Linked DNA regions of Homo sapiens: all the other regions are linked to region 2. The links are contacts of gene promoters, found by promoter capture Hi-C in blood cells and fetal thymus (Javierre and others, 2016). All regions are on one chromosome and are shown on one strand. Each heading gives the region's core, a stretch centred on a gene start or on the middle of the fragment in contact. The rest is flanking DNA. Distances are from core to core; before and after follow the strand shown. Region 1 has its middle 100 kb from the start of COPRS. Region 2 holds the start of RAB11FIP4 (RAB11 family interacting protein 4). Region 3 has its middle 40 kb from the start of MIR4733.

The links. The method cuts DNA at HindIII sites, captures the fragments that hold promoters and counts their contacts. A CHiCAGO score of 5 or more calls a contact.
Region 1: a contact is called between a fragment that was not itself captured here and the fragment with the promoter of RAB11FIP4 in region 2, in 1 of 17 cell types (M2 macrophages). The highest score is 5.7, in M2 macrophages.
Region 3: a fragment that was not itself captured here is called in contact with the fragment with the promoter of RAB11FIP4 in region 2 in 1 of 17 cell types (naive CD4 T cells); the score reaches 5.1 in naive CD4 T cells.

The regions. Positions count from the first base shown.
Region 1 is chr17:31,758,325-31,761,126 of GRCh38, forward strand. It overlaps the pseudogene GPR160P2. Among named protein-coding and RNA genes, the nearest start is that of COPRS, 100 kb to the right of the region's middle. The HindIII fragment of the contact is 2,409 bases long and covers 192-2,600 here.
Region 2 is chr17:31,390,261-31,393,042 of GRCh38, forward strand. It overlaps RAB11FIP4 (RAB11 family interacting protein 4), which reads left to right and starts at 1,415. Exons shown (of 15, transcript NM_032932.6): 1 at 1,415-1,751. The coding sequence starts at 1,593. RefSeq lists an enhancer at 630-1,219. The HindIII fragment of the contact is 11,828 bases long and covers 1-2,782 here.
Region 3 is chr17:31,053,404-31,056,125 of GRCh38, forward strand. It overlaps the pseudogene LOC646030. Among named protein-coding and RNA genes, the nearest start is that of MIR4733, 40 kb to the right of the region's middle. The HindIII fragment of the contact is 3,265 bases long and covers 1-2,722 here.

The DNA.
Region 1 (2,802 bases), core at 146-2,645, 370 kb after region 2:
GTTTATATTTGAAAAAATTCAAAAACATGACATTGCTTTATATATAAAACAGCATTCATTTCTGGGATCAGCAAATTATAAACAGGTTTTGGGGTGTTTTCTTTGTTTGTCTGTTTTGTTTTGTTTTATTGGGGGTTTTTTTCCTATATGAATTTCTTCCAGGACATTCAGAAGTTCAGAGGAGGCAGGAAAGCTTCTTGTTGCCTGGGTCTGTACCATATTGCACACGCTACAGGACTTGCCCTCTTAAATGGAAGTAGTTGACTGCAAAATCATTATGACAACCAAAAATAATCCCCCTAGTTCCAAAACCACCACTAAAGAGATGATATATCCCCATTGAGAACCACCAATCTAATAACTTCTGCCTGAATGCTTTCAGTGATAAGAAATTGACTCTACAATACCATCTCATTGACTCACCTGTCAGGAAGTAATAATTCCTTCTTCTATCTCTGGTGGGTACCCAAGTTGGGCCCCATCTCTGTACTATGGTCACCATGGAGCCTCTACCAAAGAAGCTGCTTTCTAGACCTTTCCATTGTGACTCACGCTCCAGACTCCACTGGGGGAAAAAGACAGATGTGGGAAGCTCTGCCCAGTCAGGATGAGGCTGGGGAATAATCTATTATGCTCTTCTTGCCCCATCTTGTAGTGGGTTAGTGAAAAGAGGGAGCTACAAAACAGCATATATGAGATTCTTTCATTATTATAAAAATGCATATGAGTGTGTGTGTGTGTGTGTGTGTGTGTGTGCAGAAGGAAAGACCACCTGCTCAGTGGTTAGGAACTCAGACAGACCTGGGCTCAACACCCAGATCTGCCACTTATTAAATGGTAAACCTTATTAAGTGGTTGGGAAAACAACCATCCTGAGACTTAGTTTCTCTGTCTATAAGGTGGGAATAATAAGGGCACCTACTTCATAGGAATAAATTAAGATAACACATGTGGGGCACTTAGCAGAATGCTTGGTGCCCAACAAATGTTGGCTTACGTGACTTTGCAATGATAGTGGATGAAACAATACATTTTTCCAGGGAAAACCCATATATGCACCCAAGGTGCAAAATGAGCCCCATGACCCCTTTGGCCTCACCAGGATGGCTGAGCACAAAATGAGATTAAATCCCTCTGATGACCTTGTGCAGTGGCAAGCCAGACTGTACCCTTCAATCTGGGGACCACCACACGGAAGAGGTCTGCAGAGAAAAGGCCCCATAGGCAAGACATAGCACAGGTTCAGCCCATACTTGTGCGAAAGACCCAGAGCTTATTCAGGCAGCATTTTGGTAGAACAAAGAGAAATGCAAGATTATTGGAGACCATAAAACAAAAAAAAATAGGGAGAAGATAATCAGCCAAGCAACCCACACTGGAAAAGTCAGGGGACAGAAAATTAAATGAAGCAGGGTTTTATCGTACATACTTGAGCAGGTCTTCTGAAATTTAGCTGCAAAATGTACCTGTTCATCCTTCATAGTCCTGCTGTCTGAGGTCTCCATCCTCACAAACAAACCAGCCCTCAGTGGGTTAGCTGCCTGCTGAGCTGGAGTATACTTGGGAAAAGGTTCCCAAATGTCTTCACACAAGGAATAAGATGAAAAAACTCCTGTCGATGTTTTATGGAATATTTTTACATTTTACTAGCATTCATCAGTCTTTTACTATTGACAAACATATCCCTTATATCCTATTTCAGGATTTTGAATTTTTAGGCATTAAATTTGGTAAATACTATATGTTCATTTTCTCAAGATATTTTATTTACATGTTTTTGTTTTCCAGTTTTCACAAGAGTTTCTTTAAATTCTTACTAGAATTTCTTTAAACTTCCAAGCTGCTATATCTGTTAAAAATTAATTGTATTTGTTCATTTGGATTTTATCTCTTATGTTTTAGAGAGCCAGCATAAACACACAGAACTTTTATTCTCATCAATGTCCTCTTTTTTTTTTTTTTTCTTTTTGTAAGAGATGAAGTCTTGCTTTGTCACCCTGGCTGGAGTACAGTGCACAACCATAGTTCACTGAAGTCTTGGACTTCTGGGCTCAAGTGATCCTTCTACCTCAGCCTCTTGAGGAGCTGGGACTATAGGTGTGAGGCACCACACCCAGCTAAAGTGAGACCCCATCTTTTTTCTTTAAAAGTACCACTCCAGGGGCTCCCAGGAGCAAGATCTAGGGTTGCACACAAGGCCCCACTCTGCACTCATTCCTCGCCTCAGCCTCCCAAGTAGCTGGGATTACAGATGGGAGCCACGGAGCCCAGCGTCAATGTCCTTTATAAGTCAGCATTACAAGTTATTGATTGATATCATTCATAATCTCTTGGTCAGAACTTGCCACATCAGTACTGGCAATTAGGATAACTTCCTATATGAATGAGGCTATTCCATGCCTTCTTTTTTCATCTGACTCTGATTCTAATTATACTGTGAGCTCTGAGAAAACATTCTTACTTGGTTACAATTTGTATTCCTTCAACTAATCACCCACTTACTTAAGTACAGATTCTAGCCTGTACTTAGATAAATATTCACTGGTTGTCCATGGTCAACAGTTTCCTGATTGCCACAGTTCCCTGGTTCAAGTATCACAAGCTTACTTTAACAGACATCAGCTGGGCGCAGTGGCTCACTCCTGTAATCCCAGCACTTTGGGAGGTGAGGCAGGCGGATCACGAGGTCAGGAGTTTGAGACAAACCTGGCCAACACGGTGAAACCCTGTCTCTACTAAAAATACAAAAAGTAGCCAGGCACGGTGGCGGGTGCTTGTAATTCCAGCTACTCAGGAAGCTGA
Region 2 (2,782 bases), core at 165-2,664:
CCCGTACTCCCTGTCTGCGCCACTACGTTGCTCCCGGCTCCTCACATAATGGGCGGGCCCATCCCCTCTGGGTGGGGCTTCCTCTGGGCCCACTCTTGCCTGGAGATCAGGGACTTGAAGGTAATTAAGACATATCTTGCCCTGGAGGGCTTCCCAGCATGGTAGGGGAAATGGGCATCCCACTAGAGAATTAAGAATTAACTGGGCACCTGGAAGAAGGGCTTAGAACTCAGAATAGAAGATAAGATGGCGTGCCATCAGAGAAGCCTTCCCGGAGGAGGAAACCTCTGTGCTGAGCATGACAGCATAGGTGGGAGTAGACTCAGCCAAGGCCTTTTTTTGGGTTGGGGCCAGTCGTTGCCACAAAGACCTGATGTGCCGAGCAAGAAGGTGGAGAGAAGAGCCCGGCCGGGTCCTGCAGGGCCCCGAGGCTGGGCTGGGAAGTTAGCACAAGCTGGGGTGGAGGCTCCGCTGAGCACTAATGGGAGGAGGCCAGGGTCCTGACCTAGAGCCTGCGGCCAGCGGGACAGAGATTCTGTCCTGGATTCTCTGAGCTTGGGGCATGCGGGCTGCCAGGGAGGTGTGATGGTGGGAACCCGGCGAAAGGGAGGAAGCCTCTTCCAGGCGTGGAGCAGCCTTGGGCCCTGAACAGGCAGGCCTCTGGAAGCGCCTCGCTTTTCCTCCCTCCGGCCTCATCCTGGTTTTCTCCTCATCTCCCCGTCGCAGGGTCCCGGGTCCAGGCTGGGGTTCAGTTGCCTGCTCCTCCTCTCTGTGCCCTCCCCCGCCCGATGGCCCCACAAGTGCTGTCTTGCAGGAGAGCGCCGGGAGACCGCAGGGCGGAGGTGAAGAACGGAGTCCAGAGCCCTCCAGAGATGGCAGCGAATCCCGGCCCTGCCTCTTGCCAGCTGTGTGGCCTAGAGTGAGTCCGACCTCTCTGGGCCTCAGCTTCCTCCGGGATGAATGCAGTCACGGAACGCGCCAATGCAGGAGGCCCCCAGGACATCCTGAGCGCTCGGGAGACGCCAGGCGCGGCAGCGGGCACGGATAGCGGAAAGGGGCGCGACCCCGCGGAATCCTCCGGCAGGGCAGGGCCTTTGGGTGGCTCCGGGTGTCCAGAGGAAGGGGTGGGCTCGGGGACGCGGAGGGAAACTGGGGACGCGGAGGGAAACTGAGGTCGCGGAGGACGCGGCCGTTGGCAGCTCGCTGCGCCTGCCGGCCCCGCGTGGGCCGCCCCACTCGGGAGGACGCGGGCTCCTTTTGTCTGCAGCGTCCCCGCCGCCGCCGCCCCCGCCGCCTCCCCCTCTCCCTCCCATTTTCGCCGCGGCCCCCGCCCCTCCCCTCCCCGCCCCCTATTGCCCCTCCTCCTTCCCCTCCCCACTCTTCTCCTTCCCTCCCCTCCCCTCCCTTCCCCTCCGGAGCGGCTGGGGCTGCGGCGCCGCTGCTGACACGGATCGGCCGCGGCCGCCACCGGGCGGAGGCTGCGCGGCGCAGACCCAGACGGGCGGCCCCGGAGGGCGCGCGGCGATGGCGGCGGCGGGCAGGCGGCGGGCGCGGCGGGCGAGGGGTCCGGGCTGAGCTGCGGGCCGGCCCGGATGGCGGGCGGCGCGGGCTGGTCGGGCGCCCCCGCGGCTCTGCTGCGCTCCGTGCGCCGCCTGCGCGAGGTGTTCGAGGTGTGCGGCCGCGACCCCGACGGCTTCCTGCGCGTGGAGCGCGTCGCGGCGCTCGGACTGCGCTTCGGCCAGGGCGAGGAGGTAAGCTGGCCCGACCCCAGTCCCGGCCCGGGGACCCCAGCCCAGCCCCGCCGCCCCTCCCCCAGCTCCCCCGCCGGGTCACCCGCGTGGCCCGAGGCGGTGGCCTCCCTCCCAATCCCCTCCCTCCGCCGGAGCCCAGGACCTCGGCCCCCCCCGGGTATCCCTGGCCCAGCCGGGCCCTCGCTTTCCGCCCCCCGGCGCCCGTGCCCCGAGCGTCACGCGTCACGCCTAGGGTGGCTTCTGCGCCCACCTTCCTTCCTCGGCCATGCAGGTCCTTCTGAGCGGTCTGCACATCCACCCTTGTCTGGGGGAGAGAGCTGCCAGAATCCGGCCCTAGGCTCCCCACCCCACCCGGCGCTGCGGAGACCAAGATGCAAGGGTCTGTGTACGTCCTGCTGGGCCGGGCCAGGGGGTGAAAGGGACCGGTAGGGGTGCTCTGCAGCCTTGGCTCCTCGGCTGCACACACCCTGCCCAGACACGGAAGGAGGTGTCTGCTGGGGCCACCGTGTACTCCCGGGCCAGTGTCGGGTGACCTCTCATTCAGGCTCTGCTGGGCAGCCAGGCTGGCAGCTGGCTGTGTTGGTTGCAGCAGGCCAGGCAAAGCCAGGCTCGGGGAGTGGTGGCTGAGCAGAGGGCTTTCATGTGGCGGGGCCGCATCTATTTGGGGAAAGCAGGACTTACGTAGATTGTTAACAGGGCTGGAAGCGGAGGGTCGGTGCCGCCAGTAGGGTGGACGGAGTCATATCACTAAACGCACACTACACCAGTGTCCTCTGGTGCCACCGGCATGGGGACTGGGGACTGTGTCTCAAGGGGAGGACAAGACACCCACCTGGCTGAAATGGTCAGGGGTTTCCCCTGGAGCCAAAAGCCCTGAGAAGTGGGTTTCCAAGGCCATCTAAGGCCTCAGGCCCTGCATGGGGGGCCTGGGGCCATGGGCCTCAAATGGGCACTGGCTGGCATTGTGTTCCCAGAACAGGTCGGACCAGGCATTTCAGAACATGGGAGAAGCTGGGTGATGGCCAGGTTGG
Region 3 (2,722 bases), core at 68-2,567, 340 kb before region 2:
AGCGTCTTCTACATGCCAAGCACTGTGCTAAAATCTCCCTATATATATTGTTTTATTTTAATCCTCACAACTCTAAGAGGTCACTACTGTAATTATTCCAACTTCACAAATGAAGAAAGTGAGATTTAGCAAGGTCGCCTTGGTGGGGCATGGCTGCTCACACCTATAATCCCAGGATTTGGGAAGCCGAGGCAGGAGGATCACTTGAGTTTAGGGGTTTGAGGCCAGCTTGGGCAACATAGTGAGTCCTCTGTCTCTACAAAAAGAAAAAAAAATAGCTGGATATGGTAGCATGCACTTGTGGACCTAGCTACTTGGGAGGCTGAGGTGGGAGGATGGCTTGAGCCCGGGAGGTTGAGGCTGCAGTGAGCTGTGATCATGCCATTACACTCTAGTCTGGGTGACAGAGCGAGACCCTGTCTCAAATAAATAAATAAATAGGCTGGGCACGTGACTCAGGCCTGTAATCCCAGCACTTTGGGAGGCCAAGGCAGGTGTATCGCTTGAGGTCAGGCATTCAAGACCATCCTGACCAAAATGGTGAAACCCCATCTCTACTAAAAATACAAAAATTAGCTGGGCATGGTGGCACATGCCTGTAGTCCCAGATACTCAGGAGGCTGAAGAAGGAGAGTCACTTGAACCCAGGAGGCAGAGGTTGCACTAAGCCAAGCTCGCATCACTGCACTCCAGCCTGGGTGACAGAGTGACACACTGTCTCAAAAAAATACTAATAATAAATAAATAAATAAATAAAGTCAACCTGCTCACCTCTTCACTAAGAATGAATAGCAGAAATGAGAAATAGATGCAGCTTTTCCTGACTGTGTAGCCCATTCTCTTACCCAAGGCTGCTATTTACAGTCGTGCAGGTTGTACATTGCACAATTCCAATGCTGGCCCTGCACTCAATAAGCCATTATAGATGGGAAGGGTATCCAGGCAGAAGGGGCCTACTTTGCAGAAATATGAAAAAGCAACCTATATTCAGGGAACTGACCCCATACAGCCATGTCAGAGGCTACAGAACTCCTTGAAGATGGGCAGCTCCTCTGCACCTCCAGTGATTGTTTACAGAACTGACCGATAGTGTCTTGGGAGAGCTCCTGGGGTTTTGCATTTGTTTTTTGTTTGTTTGTGTTTGTTTTGCTTTTGAGACAGGGTCTTGCTCTGTCACCCAGGCTAGAGGGCAGTGGTGCAATGACGGCTCACTGCAACCTTGGCCTCCCAGGCTCAAGCTATTCTCCCACCTCAGCCTCCAGAGTAACTGGGACTACAGGCATGTACCACCACACTCAGCTAATTTTTATTTTTATTTTTGTAGAAATGGGGGGGGGGTCTCACTATGTTGCCCAGGCTAGTCTGTAACTCCTGGCTTTAAGCGACCCTGCTGTCATGGCCTCCCAAAGTGCTGGGATTACAGGCATAGCCACCGTGCCAGGCCAGGCTTTGCATTTGGTGTAGAGACCCAATCCTTCCTTCTTACAGAGCTATGGAGCTCTCAGCAGGATGTGCATACTTCTGAACTGTTGACCATGCAAACATTCAAGCACAGAGGATGCAGGAGGTCCTGAGTCTCCAAACTGCTCAGTGTCCTATGAATGGCCAATCAGTTTCTCATGCATAGGCACCAAACATAACCTGCCAAACAAGCCAGTTCAATATCTAAGCCACCCCAACTTCTTTGCAGAAGTCGTTTCAGTAGCAAAGAATGGTCTGAGAAAAATAGGCACAACCAGGGTGAATGCCTACAACACTCCAGGTGCTCAGCAAACGTGATCTCTTCCACTCTCACAGCTTTATGAGACATCATCTTTCATTTTGCTGATGAGGAAACTGAGGTTCAGGGATCAGGTAACTTACCTAGGTTACGTGTGCAACAAGCAGCCACGATTCTCACCAGAATCTTTCTAGTGGCACAGCCTCTATGCTTCTATCCTAATGTTGGCTTTCAAAAGGTACCCGGAAAAGGGCAGGAAACAGCTTACATGGCTCCTAAAATGCCTGACAGCATGTATGTGGCAGAGTCTCTCTCTACTTTTTTTTTTTTTTTTTTTTGAGACGGAGTCTCACTCTGTCGCCCAGGCTGGAGTGCAGTGGCACAATCTTGGCTCACTGCACATTCCACCTCCCGGGTTCATGCCATTCTCCTGCCTCAGCCTCCCGAGTAGCTGGGACTACAGGCATCCGCCACCACGCCCAGCTAATTTTTTGTATTTTTAGGAGAGACGGGGTTTCACCGTGTTAGCCAGGATGGTCTCAATCTCCTGACCTCGTGATCTGCCCGCCTCGGCCTCCTAAAGTGCTGGGATTATAGGCGTGAGCCACCGCACCCAGCCCTCTACTAAGGTACCCAGAAAAGGGCAGGAAACAGCTTATATGGTTCCTAAAGTGCCTGAGAGCATGTATGTGGCAGAATCTCTCTCTATTTTTAATTTTATGTATTTTTCTAGAACCTATGTCATCAATCTCAGAGCTCAGAGACCCCTCCTCAGGTGGAGAGGCTGCTTCCAGACATCATTCCACCACAGCCTTTTCTCACTGTGCAATAGTTTGGTGTTGACAGAGTAGAATAAATTATTAAATGCTTTTCTGGAATTGATTTGACTCCAAGGGTCTTTGTGTTAAAATAATTTCCTATATCAAATAGGGTTCTTGGTTGTGCCTGACTCTGACTAACTTAAGGGGGGTAGGGAGTGGAACTTATTGGAAAGATACAGAG